Linked DNA regions of Homo sapiens: all the other regions are linked to region 2. Evidence: promoter capture Hi-C in 16 types of primary human blood cells and fetal thymus (Javierre and others, 2016). All regions are on one chromosome and are shown on one strand. The core of a region is centred on a gene start or on the middle of the fragment in contact, and the rest is flanking DNA. Distances in the headings are between cores, read along the strand shown. Region 1 has its middle 5.3 kb from the start of LINC00615. Region 2 holds the start of ATP2B1 (ATPase plasma membrane Ca2+ transporting 1). Region 3 overlaps LINC00615 (long intergenic non-protein coding RNA 615).

What was found. The method cuts DNA at HindIII sites, captures the fragments that hold promoters and counts their contacts. A CHiCAGO score of 5 or more calls a contact.
Region 1: a contact is called between a fragment that was not itself captured here and the fragment with the promoter of ATP2B1 in region 2, in 1 of 17 cell types (endothelial precursors). The highest score is 5.1, in endothelial precursors.
Region 3: a fragment that was not itself captured here is called in contact with the fragment with the promoter of ATP2B1 in region 2 in 1 of 17 cell types (endothelial precursors); the score reaches 5.2 in endothelial precursors.

The regions. Positions count from the first base shown.
Region 1 is chr12:90,910,662-90,914,830 of GRCh38, reverse strand. No RefSeq gene overlaps it. Among named protein-coding and RNA genes, the nearest start is that of LINC00615, 5.3 kb to the left of the region's middle. The HindIII fragment of the contact is 3,035 bases long and covers 1,330-4,169 here.
Region 2 is chr12:89,706,918-89,710,662 of GRCh38, reverse strand. It overlaps ATP2B1 (ATPase plasma membrane Ca2+ transporting 1), which reads left to right and starts at 1,825. Exons shown (of 21, transcript NM_001366521.1): 1 at 1,825-2,067. It overlaps ATP2B1-AS1 (ATP2B1 antisense RNA 1), which reads right to left and starts at 1,708. Exons shown (of 1, transcript NR_028138.1): 1 at 1-1,708. RefSeq lists silencers at 587-1,136, 1,157-2,176, 2,327-2,556 and enhancers at 2,747-2,846, 2,857-2,946. The HindIII fragment of the contact is 7,681 bases long and covers 1-3,745 here.
Region 3 is chr12:90,943,605-90,947,631 of GRCh38, reverse strand. LINC00615 (long intergenic non-protein coding RNA 615) reads right to left here. Exons shown (of 5, transcript NR_038868.1): 4 at 1,141-1,208. Among named protein-coding and RNA genes, the nearest start is that of CCER1, 9.6 kb to the left of the region's middle. The HindIII fragment of the contact is 3,186 bases long and covers 683-3,868 here.

The sequences.
Region 1 (4,169 bases), core at 1,598-4,097, 1.2 Mb before region 2:
GTTCAGAACTTCCTAGAGACTTGTTGAATGGGTTTGACTATAATGCTGGCAGTGATATGGACAATGAAGTCCAGGCTGAGATGGTCTCAGATGGAGATGAGGAACTCATTGGGAACTGGAATAAAAGTGACTCTTGCTATGCTTTAGCAAAGAGACTGGTGGCATTTTGCCCCTGCCTTAGAAATCTGCAGAACTTTGAACTTGAGAGAAATGATGTAGGGTATCTGGCAGAATAAATTTCTAAGCAGCAAAGCATTCAAGAGGTGACTTGTGTGCTCTTAAAAGCATTCAGTTTTATGCATTCACAAAGAGATGGTTTGGAATTGAAAGAGGTTTAAAAATGAAGCTGAGCATAAAAGTTTGGAAAATTTGCAGGCTGACAATGTGATAGAAAAACAAAATCCATTTTCTGAGGAGAAATTCAAGCCAGCTGCAGAAATTTGCATAAATAACAAGCAGCCAAATGTTAATCACCAAGACAATGGGGAAAATGTCTTCAGGGCATGTCAGAGGTATTCATGGCAGCCTCTCCCATCACAGGCCCAGAGGCCTAGAGGAAAAATGGTTTCATGGACCTGGCCCAGGGCTTTGTTGCTTTATGTGGTCTCAGGATTTGGTGCTGTGTGTCCCAGCTGCTCCAACTCTGGTCCTGAGGGGCCAAGGTACAGCACAAGATGTTGCTTCAGAGGGTGCAATCCCCAAGTCTTGGTGGCCTCCATGTGGTGTTGGGACTGTGGTACCCAGAAGTCAAGAATTGAAATTTGGGAATCTCCTCCTAGATTTCAGAGGATGTGTGGAAACACCTTGATGTCAAGCAGAAGTTTGCTGCAGGGGTGGAGTCCTCATGGACAACTTCTGCTAGGGCAATGTGGAAGGGAAATGTGCAATTGGAGTGGAGCCTCCACACAGAGTCCACACTGGAGCACTGACTAGTGGAGCTGTGAGAAAAAGGCCACCATCCTCCAGACCTCTGAGTGGTAGATTTAATGACAGCTTGTACCATGCACCTGGAAAAGCTGCAGAAACTCAATGCCAGCCCATGAAAGAAGCCAGGAGGGGGGCTGTACCCTTCAAAGTCATAGCAGCAGAGCTGCCCAAGACCATGGGAACCCATCTCTAGCATCAGCATGTCCTGGATGTGAGGCGTGGAATCAAGGAGATCATTTTGGAACTTTAAAATTTTGGACTTGCATGGGGCCTGTAATCCCTTTGTTTTGTCCAATTTATCCCATTTGGAACAGGTGTATTTGCCCATTGCCTAAACTCCCATTGTATCTAGGAAGTAACTAACTTGCTTTTGATTTTATGGGCTCATAGACAGAAGAAGCTTGCCTGTTTTTCAGATGAAACTATGGATTTAGACTTTTGGGTTAATGCTGGAATGAATTAATACTTTGAGGAACTGCTGGCAAAGTATGATTAGTTTTGAAATATGAAAGGGACATGAGATTTAGGAGGAGCCAGGGGTAGAATGATATGGTTAAGTTTTGTGTCCCAACCTAAATCTCATCTTGAATTGTAACCCCCATAATCTCCACATGTCAATCGAGAGACCAGTTGGAGGTAATTGAATCATGGGGGCTGTTTACCCCATGATGTTTTCATAATTGTGAGTGAGTTATTATGAGATCTGATGGTTTTATAATGGGCTCTTCCCCCTTCACTCAGCAATTCTCCTTCCTGCCACCTTGTGAAGAAATTGCCTTGCTTCCCCTTCACCTTCCACCATGATCATAAGTTTCCTGAGGCCTCTCAAGCCATGCTGACCTGTGAATTAATTACCTCTTTCCTTCATAAATTACCCAGTCTCAGGCAGTTCTTTATAGCAGTATAAAAATAGACTAATACACGGCTTCAACATATGAATTTTGGAGAGACACAAACATACAGTCCACAACACAAGCCCACACACTAATCCTTAGGGAAAATAAAACATAATGAAGATCTAAACAATGAGATATTTGTGCCCTCTATTTTCAACTGGTCATTGCCACTGCCTGGTTCTCTTTTATTCATGTCTTCTTCATTCCCCAGTGAATTTTCCATACATTCCATTCCATGTCTTCGAAAGCACCATCGGAAGTTCTCATTTTCGTGACTCCTTGGATCTTTATAGTTGATATTTAGATCTGTTTTATAAAGATGGGATTATTTGGCACATGCAGTCAACACTGAGACTTTTGATGGTACTTTATAAAATAAAGGAGTGTGGGACTAGAATGCATGTCTCACTACAAGATTCTAACTGGTGGTCATAGTGTGGGAAACAAGGATCATGACTCCAGTGCAGTTCATAAAGGCCTTGAGAGCTTTCAGCTCAGGCTCCAAGACAGTAAAAGTATTCTAGGCCATCAGTTCATTGAAATGGGTTTGGAGGGTAAAATAGATCCACCTTCAGGGACTTGAGAATCTCAAAAGCCATAGCATGGGGACTTGACAACATGGGATGGGGACCAAGGAAAGGAAGTTTCATTACTGATATCCAGAGAAAGTGACTGCATTGTTAAGCACAGACTGAACAAAATATAAGGCTCAGAAGCAAGAATAGTCTTGATGCCAAATAAAGTTTTTTGGGAACACAATCTTGGAGCTAAACCAGTCCAGGAGGTAGGGGGCGAATTAGATCCACTATAAGAATAGAAATAATCCTGTGATGGGAGCTAGTAGGAGAGATGATAAGAGTGGAGCAATAAAGAGCATGAAGCCAAACGGCATCTGGGCATGGATTCTTTTATCCTCTTTTCCGCATGTCTTCACACCAACATATATTTGTATCTTCTTCAAAATTTTCTTCAGATTCTCAAGAGAAATATTCTCTAGAGATAACAGTTTAATGTTATCTTTTATATACAAGCACAAACTTTGATCTTCAAGAGTCCATGGAGGTTTTTTAAAAATATTTTTATTTTCTCTGCTTAAGAGCTGTGTCTTACACTGGCACAAATTCATTATGATCTCAGTTATCCACATATGATATTTTAAGTGTCAGATTCCAAAGAAGAAGACCACCACAATTTTACAGAACATGCCATCATAAAATCGTCGTTGTTAGTGACTTAGGATGAGTGAGGAGGGTCTCAATTTAGATTCATTAATAGCTTTTATCCTGAGAACTGCTGCGATTTTATATAATTTTCCTGTTTTGTTTGATTTTCAATATTGCACACAATTCACTTGGGTTAGAGTTTCAAAACCACTTAGGAAATTAAGAGGCTTTTTGGAAAATAATTAATAGTAAAATAAGATCAAAATTGTAGGGTGATGTTTCATCTCTAGCAACTGAGGCTTAACATCTAGTACATAAGTAACCTTCATTTGTATAACCCACAATATTCTATTAAGAAAAATATAGATAGCCATTACACCCAGACTGTGAACCAAACAAACCTCTTTAAACTTTTTTAAAAATTTATCTACATTTTAGGGGTATACATGCAGCTTTGTTACATGGATATACTGAATAGTGGTGAAGTCTGAGCTTTTAGTGTATCAGCCACTCAGATAATGTATATTGTATCCATTAAGAAGTTTCTCATCATCCACTCCCCTCTCACTCCCACAATCTTCCAAGTCTCCAATGTCTATTATTCCACACTCTGGTGTACACATTATTTAGATCCCAGTCATAGGTGAAACATGCAGTCTTTATCTGTTTCTGAGTTGTTTCACTTAGATAATGGCCTCCGATTCCATCCATGTTGCTCAAAAGACATGATTTCATTCTTTCCTGTGGCTGAGTAGTATTCTATTGTGTACATAGGCCACATTTTCTTTATCTAATCCGTCGATGGACACTTAGATTTGTTGATTACATATCTTTGCTATTGTGAATAGTGCCACAATAAATGATAAACATACACACACCTTTTTCATATGCTGACTTGTTTTTTTCCTTTGGAAGATGTTGAGTAGTAAGATTGCTGGATCCAATGATAGTTCTATTTTTAGTTCTTTGTGAAATCTCCATACTGTTTTCCATGGAGGCTGTAGTAATTACATTCTCACCAACAGTAAGTAAATTTTCTTCTTCTCTGCATCCTCGCCAGTGTATGTTTTTTTTTTTTTTTTTCATTTTGGCTGTTGTAATGTGATATCACCTTATGGTTTTAATTTGCATTTATCTGATGATTACTAATGTTGAGAATTTTTTTGTATATGCTTGTTGGATC
Region 2 (3,745 bases), core at 576-3,075:
GAAAATAACACTGACAAGGTCTCTGGGCCAGTGGCGACGGTGAGTTCAAATAAAGATTAGATGAAGATGAAGCGCGGTATCTTAGGTAAGATACACATCTTTACTGTGTATATGCGTGTACAAGAAGGAAAACTTGCTTTTTTTTTTTTAAGTAGATGTTACGAAGGATGGTTTTTTTTTTTTTTTCAACTTGCAAAATCTCTTGAAGGTTGGAGCAGAGCCGCCGGTTACCTTTGAGCATCGAAATACCGCAAGTTATCCCGTTTCCTTTTCCCCTCAGGAAAGATGGGTGCAGGGTTGAGATGTTACAAGAGAATTAAAAGAGAGCCACCAGCTTGGCATAGTAGAAGAAACAAACCCAAAATGAAAACACCCGGATTTTAAGCGCGGATCCTGCGAGGCCGGTTTGCACTGGCCGAACGCCTGCGTTAACCCTTTGGGCGCCGCAGCTGGGATCCCCGGTGTTTGCGGACCCGACCGGCAGGAACAGAGATGGAGTGTCCCGCGCCCGCATGGGGAGTGAGCTCTCTTCCCCAAAGAGGGAGCGAGCCGAGAAGCACTTTTTCCTCCGGTGCGTGCGTCACGGCCCGGGACAGGCGTCGAGTCCGGTTTGGAGTGGGGGCAGAGACGCGGCGAGGAGCCGCTCAAATGTCCGCTGACTGGGGGTTCGCCTTAATCTGTCCTCGCCAGGAGCGCTCGCCCTCGCCCTCCCGCTGGCTCGCTCCTGGGCCCTGGAGGGGCATGGGCCCGGGGGCGGTTCGGGAGGGGCCCCAGGTGAAGGGCGCCCGCACTTCTCCTGCGGCAATCATCGCTCTCCTGCCTCCACACGTCGCGGCAGCGGCCCGGCCCCGCGCCGAAACAGCAGCTGTGACTGACGGAGTCACCTCCCCGCGCGCCTGGCCACCCCCTCCTCCCCCGCCGCTCCCTCCTGCACCAACACGTCATGGAAACACGGACGTCAGAGCCTCTCAGCCAATCGCAGGCTGCGGCAGGAGGGAAGGGGCGCGCTGGAGGGGGCGGGGGCAGCGGCAAGCCAAGGCGCTCAGGGGAAGGAAGAAAGGGAGGGGCGTGCGGAGGCGCAAGTCCCCACCTCCGCCCCTCACTCCGGCCACCCTTTCCCGACCGCGCGGCAAGTTCTAATCGCCAGGCGCGCGCTCGCCAGCCGAGGGCGCGCTCGCCGGGTCCTCCCCTTAAACGCCCTCCCAGTGCCGCTCAGCTCCCAGTCCCGGTCCGAGCCGCGGTTCCTCCGCGCGCGCGCGCGCGCACTCGCCCGCCCCCAGGCTCCCCGCGGATCGCGTCACGTGACCGCGCTCAGCCAAGGCGGCAGCGGCGGCGGCGCGAGCTTCGGCGGCGGTGGCGGCTGTGGCAGCGGGAGCAGCTGCGCCGCCAGCGTGGAGCGGGAGGCGTGTGGGTGTGGAGAAAAGGGAGCGCCAGACCGGAACGGGTGAGCGTTCTCCTCCCCCTGCCTACCCCGGCAATCTTGCAGGCCACCCGGTGCAGACGGGGTCCCTGCCCGGAGCTGCGCGCAGCCCCCTCGTGCTCGGCCGTCCGCTCTCCGGTGCCCGCGGGCCCCGCCCCGAGTGGGGCGGGCTGCGGCGCTCACGGAGGTGGCTGCACCCCGCCCGCGGCTGCTGTTGCGGACGGCGGCGTGAGGCCGGCTGAGCTGCCCGTGCCGAGCGAGCGCGGCGCGCCCTGTGTGCCGCTCTGCGGAGCCGAGGAGGCGGGTCCTGCGGGGACGCGGGCGGCCACTCGGTGGCTGCCGGGCTCTGGGCGGGGACGGCCGGGCGCCGCCTCCTCCTCCTTCGCTGCCGCCGCCGCCTCCTCGCAGTGCAGCGTGAGTAGGGAGCCCCGGCTGGTGGACGCCGAGCCTCTCGGCTCCTTGGCCGCCCCATCCCCGAGGTGCAGCTGCACCTCCGCGTGGCGCCCCGAGCCCTGCGAGCCGGCTGCGGACGCGCTGAGGACGGAGCCCCCATCCTCTGCGTTTCCCGCTGCCCCTTAACGCCCCGCGACCCTCCCGCAGCCTGCCTTTCCTTCCCCCTCGGAAAATGGTTCCCACTGCCGGGCGAGGTGAGTGGCGGCCGCCGCCCGCCCGCGGCCGGGGGCGGCGGGGCAGGTCACCTGCGGGGGAGGCCAGGCGGAGCACGGAGGTCGGGCGTCGCGGCGGGGATCCTGATAGCTGGGTGCGCAGCGGGTTGCGCCGGATTCGGGAGAAGCTGACGGGGGCGGTCGGGGCCCCTCGCAGGTTGCCTCTTGCCGGGAGATTGTGAAGGTGAGCGGGCTTCTCGCCGTGCACCTCAGCGCCGGGTCAGTCTGGGAGTCGCTGCTCCGGGCCCGAGGGATGGGGCTTGTTGGGGCTTCTGGTCTACACCCGCAGGTCTTCGGCTTCACGAAGCCGCCTCGGCCGCGCCACAGCCCATCCCGCCACCGGTCGCCCCCGCCACGGCGCGTGGTGACCTTGAGGGCACCGTGCCCGGCACTCCCTCTCCCCGCGCCCCGGGAGGGTCACCCCTCTAATCCTTGGCCTCGGCCCCCCAGACGCACTGCGGGAGGGGAGCGGGGGCCCCTGGTCGGCCCCTGGCCCTGGTGGTTGATTGTTGGCGTGTCAGGACGGTGATTCCTCGGGAGTTGGAGAGCCGCCTGGTCTTTCTCCTCACGCCTTCCGTCTGGCCCCCCAGGATGTTCACAGTTGTTTCCGATTCGTGTTTATTCACTTAGTTTAAGAGAAAAAAGCCTGCGCCCCCACCTCCCTTTTTGAGGAAGGAGTCTGTAGGAGGACCGCGTTCCAGTGGCAGGGGTGTGGGGTGGGGGCTGTGCTCTCTTTATCCCATCCTGCGGGAGAATCCTGTGGCTAAGCTGGTTAGCGACCCCTGGTTCTGCGCCGCGGTCACCAGCCAGGTTGGTCTCTGTGCGCATTTCATTCACCAGTTTTCTGCGGGACTCGCAGCGCTGGGAGTGCTCGCACCCTGTGCGCTGCTTGGCTCGGAGGGGAGGGCAGGGCGTCCGGGTGGGTTAAAGGGGTCTGCAGGTACTTGGAGGGCTCGACCCTCCTCGACAGGCTGATATTTACCTTTTCTTTGGGTTAGAGCGCTGCAGACAGCCACCTTTCGCTTCTGTGCCCGCTACTTTTCTTGGTTTATTAATAATCTAATGGCTTCTGTTGGTATCGATTGCTGTTCGTGATAAATTAGCTACATAGATTTTTTTCATACGTGTGTAGGTATATGCATATATCTGAACTTGTCTGCCTGTCAACATGGAAGCCTTTGTTGTGTTTAACCTCCCCCACCTGAGGACAGTCTTATTTTAAAATAAGGCTTTTGTTCAGCGTGGGTGTATTTTATAATAAGAAGTACTTGTAAGGGCCTGGTTTGTATGAGGCTCTCATCTGGCAGAGGGTGTGTAACCCTTTGGATGGTGGCCCACGTGAGTGAATGGAGGGCCTTCACCACTTGCCCCGATGCCAGCCTTCCCGAGACTCCCTGTCCTTGTGTGTGGCAGGGGTGGATTGGGGGAATTAAGAGGGATTGGAGGAGAATCTGCTTTTTGTACTTGTGCGTTTCATTTGGGTCCTCCTCCTCCCCTCTCTTTTTCTTTATCCTCCTGGTGAGTTCAAATTTGAAGTAAATAGAAACATTTTTTTTTTAATTGGGAACCTTTGATAGCTAGTATATGAAATGGGCTTATTTAGCTATGATTTCAGGAGGACGTTTTAGTTTTTACCTTGCTTTAGATAAGACAGCTAAAT
Region 3 (4,027 bases), core at 1,026-3,525, 1.2 Mb before region 2:
TCCCTTAAGCTTTCAGGCCCTGCGAGAATCTTTTACTGCTCTACCTATATATTGCTGCATGGTAATATGATCTAGTAGTTCTACTACAAGGGGCAGGGGGAGAGGCAGGGAGGGAGTGTTGGAGACAAATGTATTCCTGGAACAAACTACATTTAAATACTTCTCTGGCATTGCCTTAAATCAAGTATACTTTCATTTCAAGATAAATCCAGTCAAGATGGGTATAACAAGTGCAGAATTTAACTTTTAGATGTCAACCATTTTAGAAATCCGCTTACATATAAATACTTGTATAAATAGAGGTACATAGCAGAGTTTCTCTAACAGAAAAATCCTATATTCAGAAGGATTCCCAAGGGGAGTGACTGACAATTGCCCTCCTTGAATAATGGGCAGCTATAGGATACTACATAATAGAGCTAAAATGTTCTCTGTAACTATGAACACTAGGTCCTAATGCCCTACAACTTTGAGCCCCTAGTGACTTTTGACAACTTGCTAGGGTCATTTCTCCACTGCACATGCTATAGTACCCTAGTGGGTCTACCTTAGTATAACAAAATTATTTCCAACATGTAGACCATGCATGTATTTCTGACTCATTTCCAACTACTAAAGTATCTATAATTATCTCAATTATTGTAAAATTTAACATACAAACAATGGCTTTAAATAAAAAGCTTGTAGACTTTGTATGTTGAAAGGTCATCAGCTCAAATCTTTTATTCCTCCCTTCTTTTTATACAGAAAATATATTAATGTTTTCTATATGAAGATCACATGCAGAACTGTTTTTTACAATTTAAAATACATGGTCGTATTTCCCTCAATAAGAAGTTCTAGTTTTAATTTAAAAAAAAAAATTGTCCTGCCCAGTGCAATGGCTTATGCCTATAATCTCAGCACTTTGGGATTGTATGAGCCCAGGAGTTTGAGACCAGCAGGGGCAACATGGAGAAACCCCATCCTATCAAAAAAAGTAATGTTTGTTATCTGAGGCATTGTAACCCATGGCTGTGGTCTCAGCTACTCGGAAGGCTGAGGTGGAAGGATGGCTTGAGCCCAGGAGATGGTGGAGGTTGCAGTGAGCAGAGATGAAGCCACTGCACTCCAGCCTGGGTGACAGAGCAAGATGCTTACCTTGAAAAAAAAAAAAGGAAGGCTTTTGTTTTTGACCACAGATTCCACCAACTGGTCCTAGTTTTGCACTATAGGAAAATAAACAAAGGTATTATATTTCAAACACAAAAAGGACTTGGCTGTATTTGGACTATCTTTTGGAGAAGCTCCCCTACTTATTTACACCATTGTTCATGTTACATAGGTTTTGACTTACCTTCTTTCTAGGCTGCTTGTTTCATTCTAAATCTATTTCTTTTTCTTTTTTGGATGTTGCTTTTAGAATGGTTATTCTCAACTTAAGACACTAATCACATACTATCCATGCACTCTTCTCATGAGCTGGACACTGTGTTTCTATCTAGCTATTAACCTTGTGCTGCCTAAATTCAATACTGTGATTTCAATAAATAAATACAATGCAATATTTAGTGAAGCATAGACAGTACCAAGAGTTGTAATAAAATTTTAATGATTACTGCATGTTCTCTTACTTTTTGATTTCTTTCAAATTCTATTGGTGATATTTTATTATCCCAGGAAGGTTATTTTGTGTAAACTTTTAACACCTAAGACTAGAAATCCACATTTCTCTTTAAAAATTTAGATTTGACATTAACTGGCATTTTTAGCTGTTATTTAAGCTATTAATATTGGCATCTCCTGATGGTTTCAGAGGGCATTTGAAATTTTTATAATGATTGATAGTTCTGTTATCATGCATTATTTGTGTATCCTCTCCTAAATATATTTAGATTTTTAGCATGTCAGTTTTAGGCCTAGTAATTTAAGACTCTTAACTGGTGTTAATTTACCATTTATCACAAAAATTTCTATTAGACTACACATTTCATATGACATTTATCATTAAATAGTACCACCAAAAGCAGAATTTTAATGCTGCCATATATAATTACAGTTCTTATTTTTTATTAATTTTTATTGATTGCAGAATTTCCTTGAACTGGGAGATTATAATATAGGATGGCAAGCTGAGGTCAAGACTAAGTGGCTGTATATGTTCCCCTGGCAACCCCCAGTGGATTTTTCCAAAATCAATGTTCATCATTTTTTTAAAAAGAATAATGAGTATTTAATGTTTTCCCCTAGTCTTAAAAAAATTTTGTGAATTCTACATTATTTCCTGAACAAATATTTAAATACAAAACAAATTTAATAAAATGGCTTACTTTTCTCTCCTTCACTGTCTATATTGCCTTCTTATGTAGAACTTATGCTCCACAACTATTAATATATAGGTGCCACCTAGTGGCAAAGGCAAAACATTTAAATGTAAGCTAATGATAGATGAGCTGTTGTACTATATTCACAGATGCATTTTTTAGAACACATAATACATTAATACAAATGCAAAAAGAGTACTGTAATGGTATTGTGACAAAGCACCGTATTAAGATAGATATTTAAATTATTTATTTGAATATGCTGCTATACGGCTTGGTGTTTAAAAGTTAGTATCTTTTTGAACTATAAGACTAAGCCATAAACATAAATTACCAAAGTGTGTGAAGGAAAGGGGGAAAACATTGGCCCAGAAGAATCCTTGTATGTCTGTGGATTATTATTTTGATAAAGTTATAATAATTTTATTCCATGAATCATATTTTATCTGAAGGTGTTTCTACAATACTTCTGTCTATTCAAATTCCTTTTGACAGTAACACCACTAATTAACATTCACAATCTGCACTGACAGTGTATTTGTTTTCCTTTAAATAGTGACAATAAACAAGACAATTATCAAATTTGAAATTGCTAAACTAAATAATGCTTAACACTTTAATCTCAAGCAATAAAAATGAGAGTATGTATCCATTGGCCTGGTAGTGAAAGCAGGACTTGTGATAGTCAATCACCTCCTGGGACTCAAACATGGTGTAATGATCATGGCCACTAATTAGAGTACATCTTGTTAGGGAAAGAAACAAACTTGCTTGTTTGTTGGTCTGGCACCCAGAAGATAATTAATATTTTTATTGCTGCCTGATTCCCAGCTCTTTCCAGCTGCTATCTAGGTCTAGTGGGAGCACAAATCAATGCTACGAGCAGGCTCTGCCTTAGCCTGAGAGATAGTTTCTGCCTTTACAACTGCCTTAGTGATGCATTCATCAGTTCTTCCACAGCGCTTCTAGAAAGAGGTGCTCTGTACTTCTTGCTTTGTACTTCCTTAACACTTCACTTTATTGATACTTCCATTATCCTTTCTAAATTATCGTTAATTACCTGTGGTTCTCTTCTGTCTAAAAAAGGTTATAGGTCAAGGAATTGATCATCTTTCTACTTCCAGTGCACAATCTTGCACATAAGAAGCCCTTAATACATAATTTCAATATTTAAAAAAAGAATAAAATAAAAATAAATCTATGAAATGATCTATGATTCTTAGGTAGTTCCAACAGAGAAGCATAATTACTTATCCATGTGTGTACTAAAACCTACTTCATTAGGAAAGCAGAAGAAAGAGTAAGTAGAGACTCAGCCACATCTCTTGTGCTCTAAACTGTGTGGTATAATAGCCCTGTCCTCATGCATAGATTTGCACAGGAACTGAACACAAAATTTTTTAATGTAACAAGAAGCTCTTGGTTCCAACTTGCTGGGCCACAGAATCACCATGAGTATAAACCATCTTAAAAATGCTCATGGCAATGTTCCTGTTTCTAAAAGGCACATGAAAATACATTTTTAGATTATTATAATTTTACAATTTGGAGTACCTGGTGAAGCTTAACGTAGCCAACACTTATTTTATTCTGTTTCACTTTGCTGAGTGTTTACCTTGTGTAGGACCTGTGCTAAGAACATATGCTTAGTTTAGCAGTGAGAAAGCCAATGCTAAGAGCTCTTGACCAAGTTACCCAGGATCCCACAGCTAATAGGTGACAGA